3 separate regions of the Homo sapiens genome follow, and all the other regions are linked to region 3. The links are contacts of gene promoters, found by promoter capture Hi-C in blood cells and fetal thymus (Javierre and others, 2016). All regions are on one chromosome and are shown on one strand. Each heading gives the region's core, a stretch centred on a gene start or on the middle of the fragment in contact. The rest is flanking DNA. Distances are from core to core; before and after follow the strand shown.

Region 1 (3,395 bases), core at 868-3,367, 61 kb after region 3:
CTCACTTTATAAGCTTCGAAGGCTAAAGTAATGAATACAATTTTAGGCTATCTTCAGCCTAAAAACAATGAAAAGTTAGCAAAACAAACAAACAAACAAAAAAGATTATGAACTAATGGTCTACAAAGACTATTTTCAAGGACAATTCTTTTGATTGTGCAGATTGATAAAGGAAGCAGGTCTCCTGAGTAATCATTACCTTCCGTCTCTGGTGGGTGTGTTGAACCACACCATCAGGAAAGCCACTAATTATCAGGAAGAGCAAAGCTGAACTGTTCCCCTAAGCTTCTTCGAGGTGCCAGAGCAAATCCAGAGGAGAAAATCCTGCAGTGGAGGGAAAAAGGATTTGTGTCTCTGAGAAAGTGAGATTTAAGATGTATGCCCTCTGGTGCCCAAGAAGTGAAGGACAAGGGTGATGATCCAACATAAGCAATTTGTGAATATGAAATATGTTGAAAGACTTTGAAAATTTCCTGATTAGGTGTAGGGTGGGTATAGTGAAGAAGGATATTCTTGGCTTAAGATATAGACATAAAAATTCATACATTTGGAAGGTCTCTCTTATGGAAATTCAGGAACAAGACTATGGTAGCTTGTTAGTATTCACATGTTTTCTACTACTCACAAGTAGTAAATACTTGTGAGTATTCATTCATGTTTTTCTCCTAGATTTTATATCACCATTAATAAAACAGGTATTATTATTATTCTAATTTTAGAAAAAAATAGAAATGATCATATCATCAAGGCTGATTTATACTGAAAAATAAGTGAACAAGGGAAATTATACAAAATTATATCCCTAAACAAATATATTATAAAATTGCTTACTCTTTTATAATAACTCAATGACATTACCAAGTTACCAGACCCCAGAGACTATTTTTTAAAGTCTATGTGACTATTAGAAAATTAAAGGGCCTTCCATAGTGTCCCATCTTCTCATTGTGACCTTACGTTCTTTTTTTCCCCATAATCACCACATCAAACTTGGAATTTTGTATCTCAAAGAAGCAGGATTGTTTTCTCAAGGAAGCAGATTAAGAAAAAAACTGAGGAAGAAAAGGAAACAGATAGTAGAAAGCAGGAGATCGTTACCAACCACTCATTCAGCCACATGCCATGAGGGCCACTAGTCTCTGTTCACACAGGCTCAACAGCTCACAGGGTCCTCTGCTATCTCACTTTGGTTCTTTTCATTTTAATTTTTTACCCAAAGTTTATTATGGTAAAATATATGTAACAAAATTTACTATCTTAATCATTTTTAAGTGCACAGCTGAGTGGCATTCAGTATATTCATATGGTTGTGCAAACATCACCAGCATCCATCTCCAGATCTCTTTTCATCTTGCAAAATTGAAACTCTATGCCCGTTAAACAACAACTCATTGCTCCCTTCCTGCTACCCCTGGCAACCATCATTCTACTTTCTGTCTCTATGATTTTGACTACTTTAAGTACTTCATAAAAGTGGGATCATATAGTATTTGTTGTTTTGTGACTGGCTTATTTCACTTAGCCTAATGTCCTCAAGGTTCATCCATGTTGTAGCATGCCTCAGAATTTTCTTTCTTCTTCTTCTTCATTTTTTTTTTCTTGTGGCAGGGTCTCATTCTGTTGCCCAGGCTGGAGTGCAGTGGTATGATCTCGGTTCAGTGCAACGTCTGCCTCCCAGGTTCAAGCGGTTCTCCTGCCTCAGCCTCCTGAGGAGCTGGGATTACTGGTGCTTGTCACCACGCCTGGCTAATTTTTGTATTTTTGGTAGAGATGGGATTTCACTATGTTGGCCAGGCTGGTCTTGAACTCCTGACCTCAAGTGATCTGCCTGACTTGGCCTCCCATAGGGCTGGGATTACAGATGTGAGGCACCATGCCTGGCCTGAATTTTCTTCCTTTTTAAGGCTGAATAATATTCTTTTTCTTTTTTTTTTTTTCTTTTTTGAGACCGAGTCTCACTCTGTTGCCCAGGCTGGGGTGCAGTGGCATCATCTTGGGGCTCACTGCAACCTCTGCCTCCCGAGTTCAAGTGATTCTTGGGCCTCAGCCTCCTGAGTAGCTGGGACTACAGGCGTCAGCCACCAAGCCCAGCTAATTTTTTTATTTTTAGTAGAGACAGGGTTTCACCACGTTGGTCAGGCTGATCTTGAACTCCTGACCTCAGGTGATCCACCTGCCTCGGCTTCCCAAAGTGCTGGGATTACAGGCGTGGCCACTGTGCCCAGCCTTAAGGCTGAACAATATTCTATTGTAAGTATATATCACATTTTGCTTTTTCATTCATCTGTCAATGGCCTCTTGGGTTGCTTCAATGTTTTAGCTATTGTAAGTAATGCTGTATGAACACGAGCATACAAATATCTTTGATACTTTGCTTTTAATTCTTCTGAGTATGGCACTGCTGGATCATATGGTAAATCTATTTTTAATTTTTTGAGAAACCACCATACTGCTTTCCACAGTGGTTATACCATTCTATATCCCCCAAACAGGCACAAAGATTCTATTTTCTCCACATACCCTGCAAACACATTTTATTTTCTATTGCTTTGATAGTAGCCATCCTAAGGGTGTCCAGGTGGCTCTCACTATAGTTTTGACTTGCATTTCCATAATGATTAGTAAGGCTGAGCATCTTTGCATGTGCTGATTGGCCATTTGTATATCTTCTTGGAGAAGTATCAAATATCTATTCAAGTCCTTCACCCATTTTTGAATTGAGCTGTTTGTATTTTTGTTGTTGAGTTTTAGGAGTTCTCCATATATTCTGGATACTAATCCCTTATCAGATATATGACGTGTAAATATATTCTCAAATTCTGTAGGCTGTCTTTCTATTCTGTTGATAGTGTCTTTTGATATAAAATTTTTAAATTTTCATGAAGTCCAATTTGTCTGTTTTTTTCTTTTGTTGCCTGTGCCTTTGGTGTCATCACACAAAATCACTGCCTAATCCCATGTCGTGAAGTTTTTGCCTTATGTTTTCTTCTAAGAGTTTTATAGTTTTAGGGCTTACATTTAGGCCATGGATCTACTTTGAGCTAAATTATGCGTATGGTATTAGGTAAAGGTAAAAGTTCATTATTTTGCATGTAAATATCTAGTTTTCTCAGCACCATTTGTTGAAAAGACTGTCCTTTTCTTATTGAATAATCATGGTTCCCTTACCAAAAATCATTTGACCATATATTTGAAGATTTATTTCTGGATTCTCTATTGTATTCATTGGTCTTTATGTGTGGTCTTTATGCCACTACCACACTGTCTTAATTACTATTACCTATTATAAATTTTTAAATCAGTAAGTGTGAGTCCTCCAGCTTTGTTCTTCTCTTTTAGGATTATTTTGACTATTTAGAGTTCCTTGAAATTTCATATGAATATTAAGATTTGTT
Region 2 (3,496 bases), core at 472-2,971, 43 kb before region 3:
AGACTACACTCTGCTAGTGTTTTGTCTTCCAGCATCCACCATCTCCTAGCCTTTCCCAACACCCACCTCTTAAAACCTGGGCAGTCTCAGAAGGCAAGACCAGGAAATGTAAAGGCACAGGACCAGACAGAATCATATATGAAAGCCTAACACAGCTTAGGGGACTGGCCTAGGAACTATGGCCAATTATCCTCTCTCTTGGCCTAATGAGATTATGTCATGAAGATGAGTACCACTCCCTACCATCAGTAATGAGAATGCAGAGGCAAGACCCAGGGACCAAGGAAAGGGTTAAAGACAAGCAGCAAGATGAAGGGTAAAAGCTTGCTGGTTCAGAAACATTATCTATCTGCCCCTGACATACTCATCTCAATACAGCCAATCTCCACTCCCGGCATCTCTTCTTTGATTTACTAACTTATATTCTTTTGTTACTTTTTTATTTTTATTTTTGGCAGGGTCTCACTCTGTTGCCCAGGGTGGAGTGCACTGGCACAATCTTGGCTCACTGCAGCCTCGACCCTCCCTGAGTTCAAGTGATCCTCCCACCTCAGCCTCCCAAATAGTTGAAACTACAGGCACATACCACCATACCCAGCTAATTTTTTAATTTTTTGTAGAAATGAGGTCTCACTGTTGCCCAGGCTGGTCTCGAAATCTTGGACTCAAGCGACCTGCCTGCCTCCACCTTTCAAAGTGCTGGTATTAGTGGTGTGAGCCACTACACCCAGCTGGGCTTTTGTTATTTTTCAACAATCAAATAATCCATGTTCATGGTGAAAGAAAATCCACACTCACGGTGAAAAAAAAAATTGTAAAATGCAGATAAACAAAAATGAGAGAGAGAGAAAGATGAATGGAAAAAAGAAAGAAGAGAAAATACATAACTTCCCTATCCATTACTAACACTTCAGTACTGGCTTCCAAATGTGTTCTTGCTTAAATGTCTTTTGAGGGGTCTTGCTTGAACTGCTTTCAAACATCAGATTTTACTTATATTTCATCTGGGAAAATCAGTTCCTCTGAGAGCTATTACTGACACACAGTCATGTGCAGCATGACTTTTGGGTCAACAACAGATGGTACATTCAACAGTGGGCCCATAAGATCATGATGGAGCTAAATAACTCCTACTGCCTGGCAACATCGTAGCTGTGGAAATGTCGTGGCACAACACATTACCTTTCTCTATGTTTAGATACACAAATACTTACCATTGTATTTGTACCACTGTACCATTGAATACCTACAGTATTCAGTACAGTAACATACTGTACAGTTTTTGTAGCTTAGGAGCAATAGGCTATGCATATAGCCTATATGTGTAGTAGACTATACTTTCTATGATGTTCACAAAATGATGAAAACATCTAATGATGCCCTTCTCAGAACATACCCACATCAAGCAGTACTGACTGTACTTTTCAAAGGCAATAGCACTGATGAATAAGAATTTCTTTTCATGTAGTGTAATATAAATGTTTGATTCTACATCTTCCTCCAAAATCATTAAGGCTCTTTTGACCTAAGAAGTCTCTTACAAACAATATGAACATCTTTCAAAAGGAGACATCAGAACGATAGCTTAGGGTGAGCATGGTGGCTCACGCCTGTAATCCCAGTACTTTGGGAAGCCGAGGTGAGTGGATCACTTGAGGTCAGGAGTTCGAGACCAGCCTGGCCAACATGGTGAAACCCTGTCTCTACTAATAATACAAAAATTAGCCGGGTATGGTGGCATGCACCTGTAGTCCCAGCTACTCGGGAGGCTGAGGCAGGAGAATCACTTGAACCAGGGAGGTGGAGTTTACAGTGAGCTGAGATGGCGCCATTGTACTCCAGCCTGGGAGACAAGAGCAAAACTCTGTCTCAAAAAAAAAAAGATAGCTTAGGTGATGGTTACAGGGGGGTACATTATACTAGTCTACTAGTATTGAGGTATGTTTTAAATCTTCCATTAGAAAAAAGTGTTTTGCATATGCACCTAAGTGCTAATCTATGTGCAGACCAGCATGTGGCATGCTCCTTAAATGAAATAAACAATACTGAACTTTCAAAATGCCACTCTTAAAGATTTGCAGACATGTCCTAATTTGGTTGCAGAAATACCTATAATTCAGCTCTGAAAATTGCATTCAAAACACTGGTTTCAACCATTTTTTTATAAGGATTTCTTCTTTGGTCACTGATTTATCAGACTCTTAAAAACTCTCTATACACAAAATTATATGCTCTCCAGAATTTGCTTTAAAATAATTTAGGTAGCAGTTAACCATTACAAATTTAAAACATTTCTAAAAGAGGAAGGGGATCAATGAATAAGAATGGCAGAATGTGGACGATTGCTGAAGTGGAGGGATGGTAGGTACGTGGGAAATTATCATACTGTTCTCTTATGGATATTTGAATATTTCCATAATACAAAGTTTTAAAAAAATCATTGTGAATATATATTGCTCCAATTACGAATCAGTATTTCGTACCCAGTGCACAAATAATTAAGCTCTATTGGAATGGCTACTTACTACGTGCCCAGCACTATTTCTAGCACTTGATACTCATCAATTCCTTGAGACATGCCTGTTCAGTTGGTATTATTGGTCTCATTTGATATCTGAGGAAACAGATCGAAAGAAACAACCCACTTGGCCAAGGACTCAAGGCAAGTGAGATGGAGGAGGGGTAGCGGCCACACCACAGAGGTGTCTGCTACATATATTGTTTGGTCCCTTTATAAATATTATTGTACGTGAGCATGTCTGTTTCATTGTCACTTGCAGTATTTTAGTGCATCCTGTTTTTCTAGAAAAATGAATCAGCCTCTCTCTGTTTATCCAAGATAACAAAACAAAAAAATGGCCTGAGAACAATATTGGTCTGATGGAGGCCATCCTGACTGAAAGAGGAAACGTCCCTGAGTCAATATCCTCAGTGAGAGACATCCCTTCATAAAACAAACCAGGAATATTCCAACAAGGTTCAAATAAGCATAAACATCCACAGAGTTCAGTGGAAGCTACACTGCACTCAGCCACCGGCATTTTTTACTGCCTGTGGGCTTTTCCTGTCTCATCGCAGACTCAATTCTCAAATTCTGTTCCCTCAAATGTCTCAGGCTTTAAAGCTTCCATAAGATCTCATTTTTCCCCTTAATTGAGAATGTCCGCTTCCCACCCTTTCTTTCTGCCTATGAAAATTTGACCCTATCTTTAAAAATTCAGTTCAGGGAACACCCTTCTCTGTAATCCCATGTAATGAAATCCCCTGGCTAGAACTACGTATTTCTTCCTCTGTACTTTCCTAATAAAATGGCTGTCCTCTCTCTCTCTCTCTTTTTTTTTTTTTCCGAGGTGGAGTTTCACTCTTGTTGCCCAGGCTGGAGTGCAATGGCATGATCTCGGCTCACCGCAACCTCTGCCTCCCAGGTTCAAGCAATTCTCCTGCCTCAGCCTCCTGAGTAGCTGGGATTACAGGGACGTGCCACCACACCTGGCTA
Region 3 (3,486 bases), core at 616-3,115:
TCATGACATCAAAAAGCTGGAACAATGTGAAAGGAAGAAGAGTGACAAAGCAGGCTTGTGATTTGATGGTATTTTAGGTTAACAAGTTTAATGTAATAAAACTCCTAACAATTTCCACACGATTGATTTGTCCAGCCCACAACTACTCCACCACACAGTTGCTAATAACATCACTGTGCTGTGTGGTCATTATGTCACCCAGCTGGGAGCACTATGGCCTACCAACCACTGTTCACTTTTCCAGCTTGCTTTTCCCAAGAAGATAGAAACTGCAGACCACCTACTTCACCAAAAGTCCCTCTGTTCCCCAAGCTTCACAGCTTTTCTCTGATTTATCTCGGTGTCACATCCCAAAGGGCCTGGCTCTGGACTATCTGACTTAGAGTGGCCAAGGAAGGGACTAAGGGTCTGTGCCCAAGAGTTGGCTTCAGTCCTGCAGATTCAAGGCAAAGTCACCTGTGTGTTTTATGGTGGATGAACTTCACCACTGCTTCTGATCCCTGCTTCTGATCCCTTACAATTCCAACACTCAGAGACTCACTCCCTGCTTCCAGCTCTCCATATCTGTGAAATAACCGTGGAAGGACACGCACCATCTCTCTCTTTCTCTCTCTCTCTCTCTCTCTCTCTCTCACACACACACACACACACACACGAACACACGCGCGCGTTGGGCACTGTGACTTGGTGCCTTCTTCGGCTCCAGGCTGACTTACTTGAGGAAGTACCTCTGGCCAGTGGCCGTGAAGGTCATCTCCCAGCCCGGGGGCAGTGGCAGCTCGTCGGTCACGTCGTAGGACTGCTGGCGGAGGTGCGCGTGCTGCTGCGCGGGGCTACCCGCAGCACCCGCGCCGGTGCCCAGCTGCAGGGACGCGGGCGACGAGTGCGAGCGGACATGCTGGGCACCCCCAGCCAGTCGAGGCCCCGGGTGGCCGCCCGACGAGTCGGTGCTGGACTGGCGCGAGTGCGAGCCCGAATCAGGCTCCTTAAAGAAAGACTCCGGCAGGATCTTCTTCCGCCACGAGCTAGGCTTCGGATTCATGACAGAGTTGAAGAGGGCTTCGAGGTCTGTGTCTAGGTCCTGCGTGACGTGGATCACTTGCTGCCCAGGCGGCGGGAGCGGAGGGGGCGCCGAGGCCGGATTCATCTTCTGCAAAAAGAAGGTCAGATCAGCCTTTTATTTAAAGTCGGAGGAAGTGGGTAAGAGGGTTACAGGGTGAGAGGGCGAGATGGTGGGAGAAAGAATAGAGGGAAAAGGAAACGAGGAGACAGATAATTGCCCGCCTGGAGATCCCAGACACTCAGCGGTAAGACCAGCAGGATGGGGGAGGGGTCCCTCCTGGCCTCGAGAATTATGCAACTTTCTTGAAGCAAAGAAGTTGCCTGGAGGAGGAGAAGATAGGGCGAGGGGTGGAGGGAATAACTGCACTCGGGGCTTGCTGAACCGCAGGATGGCAAAGGAAAGGTCGCACGATTCCAGGACAGGCAGCCCCCCGAAAGAAGTTCAGCCCGAGCCAACTCCACCACGTCTCGACTCCGGAAGCCCGAGGAGCCTGGAGCCCTGGAGTGGTGCCGGATGAGCGCGCGAGCTCCAGCGGGCACTACCTGGGCGGGCAGCGAAGCTGAGCCTGAGCGCGCGGCGGCCGCCGTCCCGCCCGAACTTGCCGTCGGGCCTGGGTCGCTCGGGTGAGTCCCGAGATTGCGGAGCTGGAGCCGAGGCTTGGCTGACAAATCCCGACCCGACTCTGTGCCTGGCAGTCTAAGGGCTTCGGCTCTCACATCCCCCGAGCTGGCCTAAGGCGCTAGTGCTGGGCGAAAAGGAGGCGCAGGAGAAGCAGACAGCGCGGCCGCAGCAGCTCCCGGACTGTCCCATAAACAAAGTTTGGAGCAAACTCCCACCCCCAGGAAAGAGGCGGGCCCGAAAGTTGAGCTGTTGAATTATGTATGACCTCCTAGTCCCTAGCCGGCCAGCCCCCGCTCGCCCCTCCTCTTCCTCCTCCTCCTCCTCCCACCTCGGCTCCAGAAAACCCTGGGCGTGATGGGTACTTTACTGGGTAAGAGGAGACGGGTGCCCCCCACCCACTCCTCCCGGCCGCGCGGACCTCTCCCGCTCAGACCTGCATCTGCATTCCTTTGAGTTTACCACGGACTTGGGGCGGGATCAAAGGGAAAGTGGCCTGAGCCTGTTTCATCAAGGGGTTGTGGACCGAAACCAAGGCCGGGGGTGGCGGAGGGCACGCGGATGAGGGGCTCAGGCCTAGGAAGGGCCGGTCCTGGACACCGCGCCCTCCCCTGCAGCCAGGCGCCGAGGCCTGCAGCACCCGGAGCGCCGCACTGACCCGCGATTCTGCCCGAAGGCCGGCCCGGGTGCGCCCCGGCGCGGGGAGACACCAACAAGGCCAGCTTTTCCACGAGAGGCTGCTTAGCTCTTGTGACCATATTTGGTCTGGCGAGGAGGCATCTTGGCTGCCTGGCTCTCAATTGTCTGCTAGAGCACAGACGGTGCCCAGAAAGTGCCTCTGTCACTGGAGATGCGGCTTCGCCAACGGGTGGGTTGTAAACAAACAACTTTCAAACCATTCATCAATCCTTAATTTCCTCTACGGGGGTGACTCAGGCCACTAGAGATTGAGAAGAAAAAGCTGGGTGTTGGAAGAGAAGAGCAATTGCACCCCCCTCCCCCGCAACATCCGTGAGGGTTGTGGGAGGATTGGAATGTCCCTGCCGCCCTCCGGGGAGCCTGGAGCCGGGATGGAACCCGAGCAGGTGGCTGGAAGTAGAGAGGGTGCGCCAGTGACCCGAAAAAAGCCACCCACCTTCCCACCAACTAGATCTGGGCGAGGGATGGAGACCCCCTGCCTCTAGCTAAGGGAAGAAGGTCAAGTCTGGCGAAACAGCTGCGGGAAGTAGGAGGAGGCCTTGCCCTTCAGAGCAGCTCAATTTCTTTTCTCTCTGGTTGCCTCTCCACTGAGGGGAAAGGGTGGGGGGAGATGGCGAGGTAAGCCAAATTCCAGGAAGCCCCTACTCCACCCCATTTGATTCAAATAGGAGTTTATTAAGTAAATCAAACGAGACAATGTAAAGCACTTCGCACAGCACCGGGCTGGTTACGTAAGTGTTTGTTAAATAAAAGAGAACTGTATGTTCTTCAAGTTCACGTATTGTGCCTTAATTTTTTTTTTTTTTTTTTTGAGTGACGTCTCCCTCTTGTCCCCCAGGCTTGAGTGCAATAGCTCCATCTCAGCTCACTGCAACCTCCGCCTCCCGGGTTCAAACGATTCTCCTGCCTCTGCCTCCCAAGTAGCTAGGATTAAGACGCCTGCCACCACGCCCAGCTAATTTTTGTATTTTTTAAAAGCAAAAATGGGGTTTCACCATGTTGGCCAGGCTGGTCTCAAATCCTGACTTCAGGTGATCCGCCCGCCTCAGGCTCCCAAAGTGCTGGGATTACAGGCATGAGCCACCGCGCCCAGCCTGCCTTAATAT

The links. The method cuts DNA at HindIII sites, captures the fragments that hold promoters and counts their contacts. A CHiCAGO score of 5 or more calls a contact.
Region 1: a contact is called between a fragment that was not itself captured here and the fragment with the promoter of WWTR1 in region 3, in 1 of 17 cell types (endothelial precursors). The highest score is 10.8, in endothelial precursors.
Region 2: a fragment that was not itself captured here is called in contact with the fragment with the promoter of WWTR1 in region 3 in 1 of 17 cell types (endothelial precursors); the score reaches 5.8 in endothelial precursors.

The regions. Positions count from the first base shown.
Region 1 is chr3:149,717,243-149,720,637 of GRCh38, forward strand. It overlaps a transcript of WWTR1 not described here. Among named protein-coding and RNA genes, the nearest start is that of COMMD2, 34 kb to the right of the region's middle. The HindIII fragment of the contact is 3,669 bases long and covers 284-3,395 here.
Region 2 is chr3:149,613,113-149,616,608 of GRCh38, forward strand. The region is part of intron 2 of WWTR1 (WW domain containing transcription regulator 1); the gene reads right to left. Among named protein-coding and RNA genes, the nearest start is that of WWTR1-IT1, 37 kb to the right of the region's middle. The HindIII fragment of the contact is 2,801 bases long and covers 322-3,122 here.
Region 3 is chr3:149,656,160-149,659,645 of GRCh38, forward strand. It overlaps WWTR1 (WW domain containing transcription regulator 1), which reads right to left and starts at 1,866. Exons shown (of 7, transcript NM_015472.6): 1 at 1,606-1,866; 2 at 717-1,150. The coding sequence starts at 1,147. WWTR1-AS1 (WWTR1 antisense RNA 1) reads left to right here and starts at 2,051. Exons shown (of 3, transcript NR_040250.1): 1 at 2,051-2,549; 2 at 3,219-3,486. RefSeq lists enhancers at 1,693-2,272, 1,880-1,949, 2,510-2,719 and a silencer at 2,180-2,339. The HindIII fragment of the contact is 3,935 bases long and covers 311-3,486 here.